Linked DNA regions of Homo sapiens: region 2 is linked to region 1. The links are contacts of gene promoters, found by promoter capture Hi-C in human tissues and cell types (Jung and others, 2019). All regions are on one chromosome and are shown on one strand. The core of a region is centred on a gene start or on the middle of the fragment in contact, and the rest is flanking DNA. Distances in the headings are between cores, read along the strand shown. Region 1 holds the start of TSPAN19 (tetraspanin 19). Region 2 overlaps SLC6A15 (solute carrier family 6 member 15).

Region 1 (7,285 bases), core at 1,964-4,463:
TGTATTAAAAATAGTGACAAAAATATCAATTCTACTTTTCTGACATCTGTCCTGCATTGAGATTTCTATTTCTTGTTTAACTAAGAAATAGAATTCTAAGCTACCTGGATTGTAGAGATTGTTGTTATGTCTTGGGAAATATAGTTCATAATCTGTAAATCCTTAGTTAATAATTTTTTCCCCTGGTAATAATACTTACACTGATTCTAAGTGATATAAATAATAGTGAGGTATCTTAATTGAAACAGAAGGGCTTTAAAATTTTCTTCTTCCTTTATATAAAAAGGTATAATAAAATATAAAACAATCCATTATTCTGTTGGATTTCATACTCAAATAAAGAATTTCAGATTTTTTTGCCTCATTTAAATGAGCTCTGGATAAAAGACATAATAATGTAACAATGTTAATTTTTCTAAATGTAATAGGTAGGTTTAGTGCAATCCTAATAAAATAACAAAGTTCTCAAATCTTTAAAAAATTTTCTTTTTCAAAAAAAGCTTAGTTAAGATTTTCAAATGATAAAAAGATGTGAAGAATTTGGTCCACTCAATATTTACAAATATACAACAGTAGGAAAATAATGAATAAAGTAATGGAAAAGAACAGACAGCCTTGGATAGATCATATGTACAATAACTATCAGTAAGACATATGATAAATCAATTGAGAAAAATTAGATTATTAAACAAGAGACACTGGAAATATTAGCTCAATATGTGCAGGAGATTTTCAAATTAGTTCTACATTTCATAACATTCCTGAAAATAAATTCCAGTTGGATTAAGGATATTGGTATAAATGAATAAATCTATGAATAAACTCTGAAGCATATAAACATTGGTAAATATACACAAATAAAAGGATAATTTGTTTTATTTCCAAAAGTAACCATTTTGATATGTCAAAAGATTTCATATACATTTTTCTTCCCATGTAATTTAATCATGCTAAAATGTTCACAAGTAAAAACAAAAATCAGGATATAAATATATATAATGATAATCCCAATTTTACGAAGATGTATAGGTGACTATATATATTCAATATAATTTATATTTATATAAATTGTTTATAACAATGCTGCTAAAAATGAGAAGTACATAAAAACATCCTGAGAAAAGTAATATTTCTCCTGAAAAGCCTACTCCTGTTAAAAGGCTCAAAAGTGCAATACTCACTGTATCACTATCATCACTCTGGGTTTCTGATTTTGCATCACTCTCAATGTCTTCTTTTTCCAAGGAGGAAATGCTGAGTTTATCCAATTCAGCTTCTATTTCTGCTTTGAGCTTTGCATCATCATCGTCCATTATTCTTCATAATAAAGCACAGAACTGCTTTAAAAAATGAAGAGGCTAATATGTCACTAAAAATTATGTGTTCTCTAATTTGTCATACCAATCCAACATATTTATTTAAATATGTTTTAATTTAACAAACTTTTATCACACCTTATTATGGTTACACCAAACATTGTTTTATCTCTTCAATCATTCTTTTTAAACTTTGACTACAAAATGATCAACTGTAATTGTACGCTAATACTCTTATTGATTTATATGTTTATATAATTTTACTATATATAATAAAGATCAGAATTGTTTATAAAATTTTTGTTTCAGTTATTAATACATATAAATGTAGGTATGTATGCATGAGTTGCAATGTAATATGTGTTGTTGTTAATGTTCTGTTTTTTATTTTTCACTGTTGGTCTTAGTCCCAAAAAAGGTTTGAAAACGTACTAGTCAGCTATCATTTTATTTTTCATGACACTAGTTTAAACCTTTCTTTCTTTACTCAAGGGCCTGACCTTTCCACCTGTCTTCTTGTTCTTTTCTTCATTCCTTCTTTCCATCCTCTTTCCCTTTCGTTAATTCCTCCTTTCACTCTACTCAATCATCTCAAAATCAGTTCTACCCATAACTTCCACCCTCACTCACTCACTCAAAAATAAAAAATAAAATAAAAAAAGGAAAAGAAAGAAAAGAAAAGAAAAACAAAGTGAAATGGAACTCCAGACAGAACCAGGGCAAAATATTATCCTGCAATGGAACTCAAAGTGCATTTAAAAAGCTTTATTAGAAGGAAAGCTAGATTTTTTTTTTATGCCTACAAAGCAAAATGCACGGGTATACTAAACTTTATATAGAAAGAGAGGCAGGAGAGTATGGTGGAGGTAAGAGTCATTTCCTTTACATGACTTTCTCTGTTCATCTACTGGCTCATTAGATCACCCCTGTCCAATTACATATTTGAGCACTTACGCAAGTTTAAATTTTCTATTAGCAACTTTTTAAAAACAAAAGAGAAGTGCAATTAATTTTTATAATATATTTTATTTAACCCAATATATCCAAAATATTTCAACGTGTAATAACAAAATTAATTATTAATATCATTGCAAAGAGTTTATATTCTTTCTTTGGACAGTAATTCTTAGAAATCTGTTGTGTGTTTTACACCTGCAGCACATCTCAGTTAGGATTAGCTGCATTTCAAGTCCTCAGTAGCCACCTGCAGTTAGTGGTTACTGTATATGACGTGCAGTCATGGATGGGTCTCACTGTAAATGGGCTACATTAAAGTGCTCTAAGTTGATAACGAATCACTTGGAGTTCACTAAAGCTGTCAAAAGTAGAAAAGCTTAAGGAACTCCCCCTTCAACCCCTGTAAAGAAAGGGGAGAGAAATCTACTTTATAAGGTTCATATAAATTATATATTACCAAAAAAAAAAGAAAGAAAGAGAGACAGAAAAAGAAAGGGTGGAAAGGAGGGCGACAAGAAGGGAAGGAAGGAAGGAAAATAACGTCAATTGGTTTGTGGGGAGCGGTGAGTGAGTAACCATCGAATGATCCCTACATAGCCAAGACATCTCTTTAAGTTTTGAATGAGTTCTCGAAATCTCCAGGGTGGAAGGGAGCCTCGAGCTTCGCAGAGTCGCACAGCCATCCCCTGACCCGCGGTCTCTCCCTTTGCTGGAAGTCTGGCCAGGCAGAGAGAGTCCCGGCTCGGCCTGAGCTCCCACAGCTGTTCACCTCCCTCAACGGGAATCCCAGTCTTAAGACCCCGGCTCACCCCTCAGCAGCGAGATTCCTTGGCTTTGTTGTAAGACAGCGCCCATAGCCGCTACACAAAGCGTATCCATGGCAACAGCCAATCACAAGGAAGAGACACCGGTTTTTCCCTACAGGTGCTCTAGAAGGACAAACAATCTCGATTCTAAATTGAAACGAACGCAGCATTTCAGGGACTGGATGAGGAGCTTACGGTTTTTTACAGGTAGATTTTAATATTTAAGTAACTTTGGAAAATACTTAATAAAATGAAATTTTGTTATAATTACCCAAGTAGATGTAATCTCACTTTTAAATTTTTTAAATTGTTTCTGAGCTACATATATTTATATTTCCATCTGGTGATTTGCCCATGTATAAGGTGTTCATTCCACAAACCCTTAATCCTGAACAGTGATTTGTGGGACATAGAAGTATGGAAGAGAAGTCAATAAGTTGTTTGCCTTCCATGACAACAGTTTTTTAAAAAAGAAAAGAAAAGAAAAAGGAAAAAAGAAAAAAATCATCAATCAATGCCCATCAAAAACCTCTAACTGAAGGGATGTGGGTGAGAAATTTGAAAAATTATTTTCTGGAGTTATTTTACTGTAAAAATATTGTCACACAGTATTTCAATATAAAACCTTAATTTCTAAGTTTATGTCATGCTATTTAATTTTAACTTAATTTATTAAAGTTTTTTGTGGAGCAAATACATAGGGTACAAAATAATATTTTAATTAATAACATATTTTTTACTTTAATTTTCTTTTAAAGTTTGCAAATAAGGCATTAAATTCTAAAAGGAAGTAGCCATAATTGTAAAAGGTATCTGCTATAAAATAAGCTAAAAGCAAATATTTCACTGAGCCTCTGGAAAAAAAATAGACTACATTTCCTGGTAACAATAAACTTGAATTGCATCAACATAAGAACTAATAATATAAAGTGAGACGTTAATAGATTTCTCATATTAAAAGCACACATGTTAGTTTCCTTTTCAGGAAAGATGATTTTAAAAAATAAACTACACTTGGTTTCAGGTCTAATTAAATTCAGAGTATTTTCATTATCAAAGTCCATGCTCAAATGGAATTTGTTCTTTTTTTTAAGTTTGGTTTTATTGCTGATTTATAGACTATTGAAATTATCTATTTTTTATTGTTTTTTTAGAGACAGGGTCTCCCTCTGTTGCCCAGGCTGGAGTGCAGTGGTACAATTATTGCTCACTGTAGCCTCCAACTCTTGTACTCAAGTAATCCTCCCGCCTTGGCCTCCCAAAGCACTGGGATTATAGGTATGAGCTACTGTGTTCGAACCTCAAACTGTTCATTTAAAATAGACTTTCATATTGTGTTGAAGTTCACATAAGAATCTTAAGATTAGTTTTATTTTTGATTGTGAAACTATCCAGACTTCTAAAAATTATAAATCCTTTAATAATTTCAAAATTAATTTTGAATAACTAGTTTTCATAATCAAATAATTTTGGAAATAATGCCTTAGTTCCTTTCCTTCTCAAAGCTTACTTTGTCAAATATTGACAGCAAAAAAGAAAAACAGTGAAAGATTTTCTGAAGATAAATTAATTCATGGTGATAGATCTCCTATATTGTCATGCGATTTTTTACTTTGGAAGAAAGGACAACTTTATCAATTAGTCATAATTTCGCTAGAATATAACTAATCAAAAATAAAAGGCAGCAGTTATCTAATACATTTGTAGATTATAAGTAAATTTAACTTGACACTGTTGTTTATCAACCATGTAGTATTTAGCAGAAGTCCATTTTAATTGCATTATTCCTAGAAACGGTAACTTCAGATTGAGTATGTTGGTTTGCCTATGACTCTTTAACCTGAGTAGACTTTTGTTTCTTTTGAACATGTTAACTTCATTTCATTTAAATTTTAAAAACAATTTGTAGGTGTGGTTGATTTATAGCATATTGGCTTAACAATGCATATTTCCTTTAGAGAGTACATAATAAATATTTATTGAGAGAATGAAAGAATGAGAGATAACTGTTTGTTCTTTGTTATCTGACAAGACTAATATTCCTTTGAAAATGTGTTGTAGTGAAATCATTTTAGTTTAAGAGCATTTTTCAACAACTGCTTTATTCTTCATATGGCAGTGATATAATTTAAATATCCCATAATATCATTGTTGTGTTCAAAATAGTTGCAGAGCAGGTATTTCTTTGTTTCATTTTCTTGAGGCACCGTAATTATTGAGTAAAAGTAATTTACTATGTAGCTCATAGTACCACATATTGTATTCTTAGGCCTCTCATTCTCTTGTTCCACTTAAAGTGTGTCTCAAGCCTTCAGATTCTCTAACTCTCTTTGTGCTCCCTCCCAGCTGCTGTCATGACCAACCACTTCACAGAAAAATGAGAATTTATGACTTTCCCACAGTTTCCATCCCATTCCCCATTCTCACATGCATGACTCTTGTATAATCTTAATATTTCTATACTGAGATATGATATAACGAGATTCTAGCCTTATGATATAACGAGATAACTAACATCTAGCCAGGCACTGGGCTAAGAGCTTTACAAACATAATCTCATCTAATTTTCACAACATCTCTTTGAGGCATGTACTATTACAATCTGCATTTACAGATGATGATACTGGGGCTTGGGAAAGTTATTGAGAGGGTGGTTTATATCAATGGAGTTAAATCTCATCTCTGCCATTTATTAACTAAGTGACCTTTGGCAAGTAATTTTGCCTTGCTGAGTCTTTCTCTCCTCATTGATGATATTGGGGATAATAGCATTTGCAAAATATCGACGATAAAGGGAATCAATTTAAATGAGACAATGTAGAATATGAGATAATGTTCAAAGTTTAATTACATCATTTCTACAGACTACATTCCATCTTTGATTCTTTGGTTATCCCAATGCTGGCAATTCTACTTCCTACTACATCTCTCATATTGTGATACTGTTTCCATTCCCACAGCCATTTATAAATTATCCCCCTATCTTAAGTGTCTTTTCTAATTTGGCTTCCACATTGAGGCCAGAATTACGACTCCCTATTACCTTCAGGAAAAAAAAAATCTTTAGTAAAGCATATAAGATTTGTCACAATCTTTACTGAGTCTACTTCTTTAGCTTATCTTTCATCTCTTGCCACTCTGATCCATGCCTCCTTACACCTCATTATAAAGCTTCTGAACATAGTGTTCCCTCTGTCTTGAATATTTCCTATCTCTCTCCCATTTTTATCTAACTAGGACCTTCTTAATCTTCCTTCAAGAGTCATCTCAAAATCATCTTCTCTATGAAACTTTCCTGTTTCCTTTATTTCCTGTCCCCACCTCAACACATAATTCAGGTTTTAATATTTGACTCCTTGACATTCTCTTACTTGTTCATTTGTGTGTTCCCATCTCTTGGAACTTAGAATATAAAAACAATAACAAGAAGCAATTAGAGTTTATTAAACTAGTGCAAAATAATACCTATGAATAGATTAATTATTGTAAGTTGTCCATTCCTATAGCATCTCTGCTGTTGAGCTTTCAACATCAATTAACTAATCAGGAACTGAACAAAATAAATGCCACACCAGGACCTTATTTAATTAAGTTAGAAACAAATTCTTTGTTTATAGCAAAAGAAAATATAGATCTTTCACACTACAAATATTTAAATAAGAACTACACTTAACTTACTGTGTATCTTTGTGTTGGCACGTCATTGTTCTCATTGACGTTGTTTCCAGTATGTGGAGCTTATGGCTGAAAAAGCCAACACATGAACATCTCATTTTACCATTCTTTGTAAACATAGTCATGGGCTTCTTTGAATCGTTGCTTGGATGCACAGTTTGTTGTGTTTTAACTTTGTAACCTTGAACCACAGTTTTGAAATTACCATAAACATCTTCCTTACCACGTTGCCTACATTTGCGCTTACTAAGTTCTCACCCCTTTTGACTTCTATACCATGTAACACCATGATATGACACCATGATCTAGAACTGTCTTTCTCTATTGGTTTCCATGAGATCATGCCTTGATTGTCTTCTCAGTCTGTAAAAGTCAGCTTTAAAAATTCCAAATTCTTAATTGTATCATTTCATTCTCTACCATCAAACCTCTGCCCATTTCCATCTATAGACAGTCCCTCTTCTCTTTCATTCACACCCATGACACTGGTTCTCTATGAATGACTTTCAAGTCTGTACAGCCTATGCTACC
Region 2 (6,855 bases), core at 3,436-5,935, 140 kb after region 1:
ACAGATCACTGCAGTGCAGGACCGAATTCAAGAACAACTGATCATGTAAGCCTAGTTCACACTGCTAATTCAGAGAATCATGAAAGAATTAAATTGTTTTTCAAAGCCACTAAATATAAAGGAGATTTGATGTGCAGCCATGGATAACTGAGACAAACAAAAAGTTGTGTTAAGGAGAAAATTAAACATGCAGCATTGGCTCTGGACCTAACATTGTCCTTAATATTACAGAAGCATCTACAACAAATCAGTTATATTATAGTCTTAGTGTTGTGATAATCATAGTAATAAAAGAGAGAATATATTGAGTCCTCTCAGTGTGCTGACATTGACTTATGTACTTTATCAGTAGATAAGTATATTATTGTTCTCATTTTATAAATGAAGAAACTGAAGCACAGTTTAATAACTTGGCCAGGGTCATAAAATCATAAGTGACAGAGTTACAATTTGAACTCAGATAGTCTCTTTCTAAAATCTATGTATAAATATTTGGGACCAATACATGTCTTTTCACATCAAAACGTATTGATTCTTATAATGTCACATTACAATCAAATAAGAAAGATTATATGAAAACCTGAAGAGCTTGAGGTCATTATCCTCTTTTATATAATAAGTTGTTTTTTGTTTGTTTGTTTGTTTTTTAAGACAGATCTCACTCTGTCACCCAGGCTGGAGTGCAGTGGTACAATCTCAGCTCACTGCAACATCCACCTCCTGGCTCAAGTGATTCTTGTGCCTCAGCCAACCAAGTAGCTGGGACTAAAGGTGCATGCCACCAGGCCTGGCTAATTTTTGTAGTTTTTGGTAGAGATGGGGTTTCACCATGTTGGCCAGGCTGGTCTTGAACTCCTGGCATCAAGTGATCTGCCCATCTCAGCCTCCCAGTGCTGGGATTATAGGCATGAGCCACTGTGCCCAACCAAGTCATATTTACACAGTATCTATTACTTCCTACATGAAAGATGAGCATATTTTCACACTTTTATTTCTTTTTCTCCTCTCATTTCAATTTTTGATTTTTTTTGGTAATTTAATTCACAATTGTCCCCTGCACATAATTTCTATAAAAAGTAAACCATATTTCCTTGTTTAAATTAATGTTCACTTCTATTCTTCAACATGGCTCCTCTTTACTAAGATCTTTTACTTTGTTTTCTCTGTTTGGCTAAATTTTATGATTATGTAGTCTTTCCCTCCATACCCCACTCCTTCATCCCATAGGGCTCATCATTTCTCTTATGCTTAGGAATATTTGCCTGTGGCTTTTATAATCGGAATACAAATTAATTGGGTATAAAATTGGAGATCATATATTTTTCTCTTAGTTTTATTGAAATTAATGAATATTATGAGAAGTGTTTTAATTTCATCTATTAATAGATATTATGAGAAGTGTTTTAATTTGATCTTTCTACTTCTGCTTGAAATCCCTAGGAATTCTTATCTTGGTAATTTATCAGTGTTTACTCTTCTGTATTGTTATTATTTGCAAATACAAGTCTTCAAGCAAAACCTCTGCTTTTCTTTTAGTATTTTGTGTTTTATTAATTGTATTATTGTGTTTGGCTATACCAATTAGAAGTTTGTTGGATTACCTTTAGCTGACTTCAGTTTTCATTAGCTTTCTTCTAAATTACTTTAAGATATTTGTAACTTTTCATTTCTTTTTTGTGAACTTTCTTTACATCTGTCCTCCATGCCTCAGATATAGTTTCAGTAGTGTTTATTCTAGTTTCTGTTGTTTCTTTTTCTTTATTTTATTTTATTTTATTTATTTTATTTGAGACACGGTCTTGCTCCGTCACTCAGGCTGGAATGCAGTGGTATGATCTCTGCAACCGCTGCCTGCAAACTCTGCCTCCCCAGTTCAAATGATTCTCCTGCCCCAGCCTCCTGAGTATCTGGGATTACAGGCACCTGCCACCACACCCAGCTAATTTTTGTATTTTTTTAGGGGAGAGGGAATTTCACCATATTGGCCAGTATGGCCTCGAACTCCTGGCCTCAAGTGATCCACCCGCCTAGTGCTCCCAAAGTGCTGGGTTTACAGGCGTGAGCCACCACACCTGGCCTTCAGTTGCTTCTAATGTGACTTTTAGTCCTCTGATGAATTCTCCCATTTCTTGTGTTCATCCACTTACCTTTTTCTTTCAGTTAATCTTTTAGTTCACTTCCATGAAATTTATTTTAAATAAATGTTTTCTTTGTAACTCTGAAGCACATTGTTTCCTGGTGTATATTTATATTCTGTATATGTCTTTTGCTTATGTTTCTTCCTGTGTCCACTATCACCTCTATCTTTCCATTTCCATACACATATTTTTCATTATTTGGAACTACGCATTTTCAATAGGGAAATTTCTATATTGGAATATTTTTTGACATGGGAAGTAGTGCCATACAAATTGAGTGAGCTGGGGAACTCCACATTTTCAATTTAGATTTATTCTCTGAAAGAGAGGTTGGCAAATGTTTTCAGTGAAGAGTTAGTAAACATTTTAGGCTTTACGGTCCATAACAATAACTCTGTTGTTGTAGCACAAAATCAGCCATAACAAAATGTAAATCTACGGGCATGGATACGTGCCAACACAATCTTTTTTTTTTTTACAAAATACAGATGGTGGGTTGTATTTGGTCCATGAGCAATATTTTATGGGCATGGATACATGCCAATACAATCTTTTTTACAAAATACAGATGGTGGGTTGTATTTGGCCCATGAGCAATATTTTGTTGACTCCTGCTCTATTGTACAGTTGTAGACAGGAGGCTCTTACCAAATAATGATGAGGACAAGTATTACAACTCTTCGGTGCAGATGAAGTGCAGTGAGTGATAGCTTGTTCCTTAGTTGATTGTCTATCACAAGAATGGATGCTGCTAAGTTGGCAGAGATTGTGCTGTTACTTGATACTGATTCCACTACTGTCCATATGACCTATCGAGCACTGATACTTTATCACTCTATCTCTCTTCCTGGACATTTCTCTTCATTTCTTCTTCTATTCTCAGATGTAACAATTGTAATACATTTTTGGCAATTGCCAACCTCTCTTTTGATTTTCTTTTTTGTCTATGTTTATGGACTACATTTATGGACTAAGTTTTTAGGCGGGCTTTTAGAATTTATAAAAATGGTTATCCTTCAAGAAAGTTACTCTTAAAAATGTGAAATTGATCTGGCTTCTAAATTATTGTTGCTATACTTAGTTTTAATAAATCTCTTCAGAAACTAAATTTATCTATTTACTTTTGGCTGTATGAAAACTGTGCACAAGAAGTCAATTCTTATGTTCAGTGGGTGCATGGTCTTAAAGTAAAAATACAAACAAACTGGTCATGGTGGCTCACGCTTGTAATCCTAGCACTTTGGGAGGCCGAGGTGGGTGGATCACGAGGTCAGGAGTTCAAGACCAGCCTGACCAAGAAGGTGAAACCTCGTCTCTACTAAAAATACAAAAATTAGCCGGGCATGGGGACGGGTGCCTGTAATCCCAGCTACCCAAGAGGCTGAGGCAGAGAATTGCTTGAACTCGGGAGGCAGAGGTTGTGGTGAGCCGAGATCATGCCACTGCACTCCAGCCTGGGGGACAGAGTGAGACTCCATCTCAAAAAAAAAAAAAAAAAAAAAAAAAAAATACAAACAAAAATGAAAACATCTAAGTGCAAAATACTTGTTTAGTTATATGATCTTATTCTTTAAACCTTTCGGTTCATTCATTCAACAGACAAGTTTAAACATTGGTAATATGGGGGTGAGTAAGATAAACAATGTCATTCTCAAGGCAATAACTTATTTTCTCCCAGACTTACATGTTATTGTGAATATTTTAATGTTAATTACAATTCTTCCCCTATCTTCCTACAACCACCCCAGACAGACCAAGAAGTGGGACAGGGTAAGAAAAATAGTAAGAAAAGAGAGCTTAGATAATTTTATTTATAATATCATTAAGGATTCATTATAGTTTTTTGCTCATATGAGAAAAGGAGCTTTTAATGCATGCAAATACCCACTTCAACTCCCTTTTTAATAAGTATTTTATTTTATAAAGTTTGGCTAGAGTTGTTATACGATATCTGTAGTATATATTTATTTATATTCAAAGTGTTTATGATATAATATTACATTTAAAATTTGTTTACATTAGATACTGATTTTTTAAAATAGAAAATATGACCTTCAGGTAGTTTGATCAGAATATTTGAGTGTAAACTTTGCCAAAGGATAACTTATGTAAATTGGTGAGGATTATTCACTTGGTGTGTAAAAAACATGCAGTAGTAGCCAAAGGTATTACCTTTTATTTTGATTTTTGTGTGTGTATTTTTTGTCCAAAGAATATAAATGTATAGAAGAGATATAGTATTTTCCGTAAAAATTTGGGGGAGATTCATGGTTCACACTATTTAAAATTTTTTTTCTTTGTAAAATGTTGAGTGTTTTTACTATAATAGTATCTCTAAGCTTGGATACACTCCTTACTTTTCTGTCTGTATGGAAAAAGCAAAAGGAATAAGAAACCAAAGTTTATTGTGGGAACTGAGGTTAAGAGAGGCATAACTATCAGCATTTACACAATTAATAAGTTATAGTGCTAGGACACAACTCCAAATTTGTCAGACTAAAATCCATGCTCTTATCCATATATCACTTGCTACTATGCCAACACATTTTATCTTCAGATAATTTAATAAATGTAAATCTTTTTTCTGGATAATTCATGTCTTACAAATCACAATTTTTTATATGTCAGGTTGTTTTCTTCCAGCAAATACCATCTAGAAATTTGTTTATTTCAGTTTTTCAATGGCTATATTTATTAATGTATTCAACTAATATTTACTGAGCTGTAGGGGAAAATAATATAAATTAAACAGACAAAATGTCAAACCTCATGAATTATTTCCATATCAAAACTTTGTTGGCCTCTGTGAAATAGTCACTGTGATCGCTTCTCGGCCTTTTTGCTAAGATCAAGTGTAGTATCTGTTCTTATCAGTTTAAAATAATCACTGTGGGAAGTTTTACACCTATTCTGGAGATGTGTCTATCACTCAAAATATTTTGGGAATGCATCTCTTTCACAATTTTCTAAACAGTTTTCTCTTAATCTTCACCAAATCCTAAACGAGAAGTGTTTGCTCTTAGGGTATATATTTTAATTTTAAAACAACTAAACATCATCCCAACCTAAAGGCAACAAATTAGTTACATAGTAAGTTAAGTAATTTTTTTTCCACTGGGTTACCCAACACTTTGTCTTGCTCATTAAGATTATAGATTGAAATATGATAGCTGTTTTCTTTGACTTTTAATGTCAATCTAATAGCAGTTCTCTTAATAAATTCTATTTTATTCCAGAAATGAAGGGCGGAATTCTTGGGCTACCATTTCATAAACTTCCTAATTCAGATTTGAAGAGAAGCAGTCATATTTTTCAGTCACATTTTAACATAGTGTCGCTGGACTGTAGACATGTCTTATATATTTACTTGGTCTGTGTCTGAGTGGGGAAAAGGATAGGAGACGTAACATACAAATAAAGAAAGGAAAAAAAAAATCCCAAAGGGATTACAGTGTTTTTCCTGAGCTGTTAAGAGACTGATCACATATATAATGTACATTTTGAGCATTTCTTGTCTCATTTATACTTTTCCTTATGATTGGGTATGACCTCACTCCATTTATGCTCAACTCTAATTTTATCCAACATTCCTGATCTTTCCTGTTGTAATAATGTTGGGTCATTTAAATTCTGCACTACAGAATTGTTATTTGATGTACCTTTCTCTCTATTAAATATAAGATCCTTAAAAACATGCTTTGTACGTTTCATTGATTATTGTATCCCATAAAGCCTCATCACAATAAATATCAAATGGGTTGGGTGAGATCACTTATGCAATATAATCCCAGCACTTTGGGAGGCCAAGGCGGGATCCCTTGAACCCAGAAGTTCGAGATCTGCCTAGGCAACATAGTGAGACTTCATCTCTACAAAGAAAAGAAAAATAAAATTAGCTGGGTGTGGTGGTACACACCTGTAGTCCCAGCTACTTCTGGGACTGAGGCAAGAGGATCTCTGGGAGAGGTACAGGCTGCAGTGAGTCCTGATTTTGCCACAGCACTCCAGCCTGGGTGACAGAGTGGGACCCTGTCTCCAAAAATAAAATAAAATAAACTAGGTTAAATTTTTGAGAAGAACAATTAATATCAAATGAGTGAATGACGAATGTTTGAACAGAAGAGATTATATATGAGACAAATTTACAGCGTTGGTTTGCAATTGTGTTTATAATTCCACAAGGAACAAAATCAGGGATATATAAGAAAATATCTGCTTTAGTCAGGGAGGAAAAAATAAAGAATTAAGAAAAAGAGTCCTAAAAGTTTAGTTACTAATGAACAGAATATTCATTATGCATTGGAGTGTATCTGAGATTTTTGCAAGAAGGAGGATGTTAGCTAAGAAAATTGTATTTGAAGCTCATAAGTGCTTTAAAATTCTTATACTTACGGGAATATTAAGCTCTGAAATGCTAAAGACAGTTACATGTTTTATACTCTGTAGAAAGGGTTTCTATCATAAAAATAAAAAAGAATAATTCTGTATTTAAATTTTTTCATCATTAAATATGATCACATTTCAACTTATAATTTTACAGGTACCTACAGAATACTGGACATACGGATTCAGAATCCATAAGGCTTTATCACCTTGAATCAAGGATTTATTTGATATCATCCTCGGTCTTTACTTCCTATCAAGTAACATTGTTTTGAAAAATAGAGTTAACACATTTGCCATAAGGGAGTTTTTTTTTTTTTTTTTAAATACTTCG

The links. Contacts are between HindIII fragments. The study calls those that stand out against the background at their distance.
Region 2: a contact is called between a fragment that was not itself captured here and the fragment with the promoter of TSPAN19 in region 1, in 2 of the 25 tissues and cell types used here (hippocampus and mesenchymal stem cells).

What each region holds. Positions count from the first base shown.
Region 1 is chr12:85,032,205-85,039,489 of GRCh38, reverse strand. It overlaps TSPAN19 (tetraspanin 19), which reads left to right and starts at 3,213. Exons shown (of 9, transcript NM_001100917.2): 1 at 3,213-3,286. It overlaps LRRIQ1 (leucine rich repeats and IQ motif containing 1), which reads right to left and starts at 3,139. Exons shown (of 27, transcript NM_001079910.2): 1 at 3,083-3,139; 2 at 1,182-1,337. The coding sequence starts at 1,313. The HindIII fragment of the contact is 3,053 bases long and covers 2,365-5,417 here.
Region 2 is chr12:84,892,132-84,898,986 of GRCh38, reverse strand. It overlaps SLC6A15 (solute carrier family 6 member 15), which reads left to right. Exons shown (of 12, transcript NM_182767.6): 2 at 6,679-6,855. It also overlaps the pseudogene LOC124903121. Among named protein-coding and RNA genes, the nearest start is that of SLC6A15, 17 kb to the left of the region's middle. The HindIII fragment of the contact is 5,533 bases long and covers 1,919-6,855 here.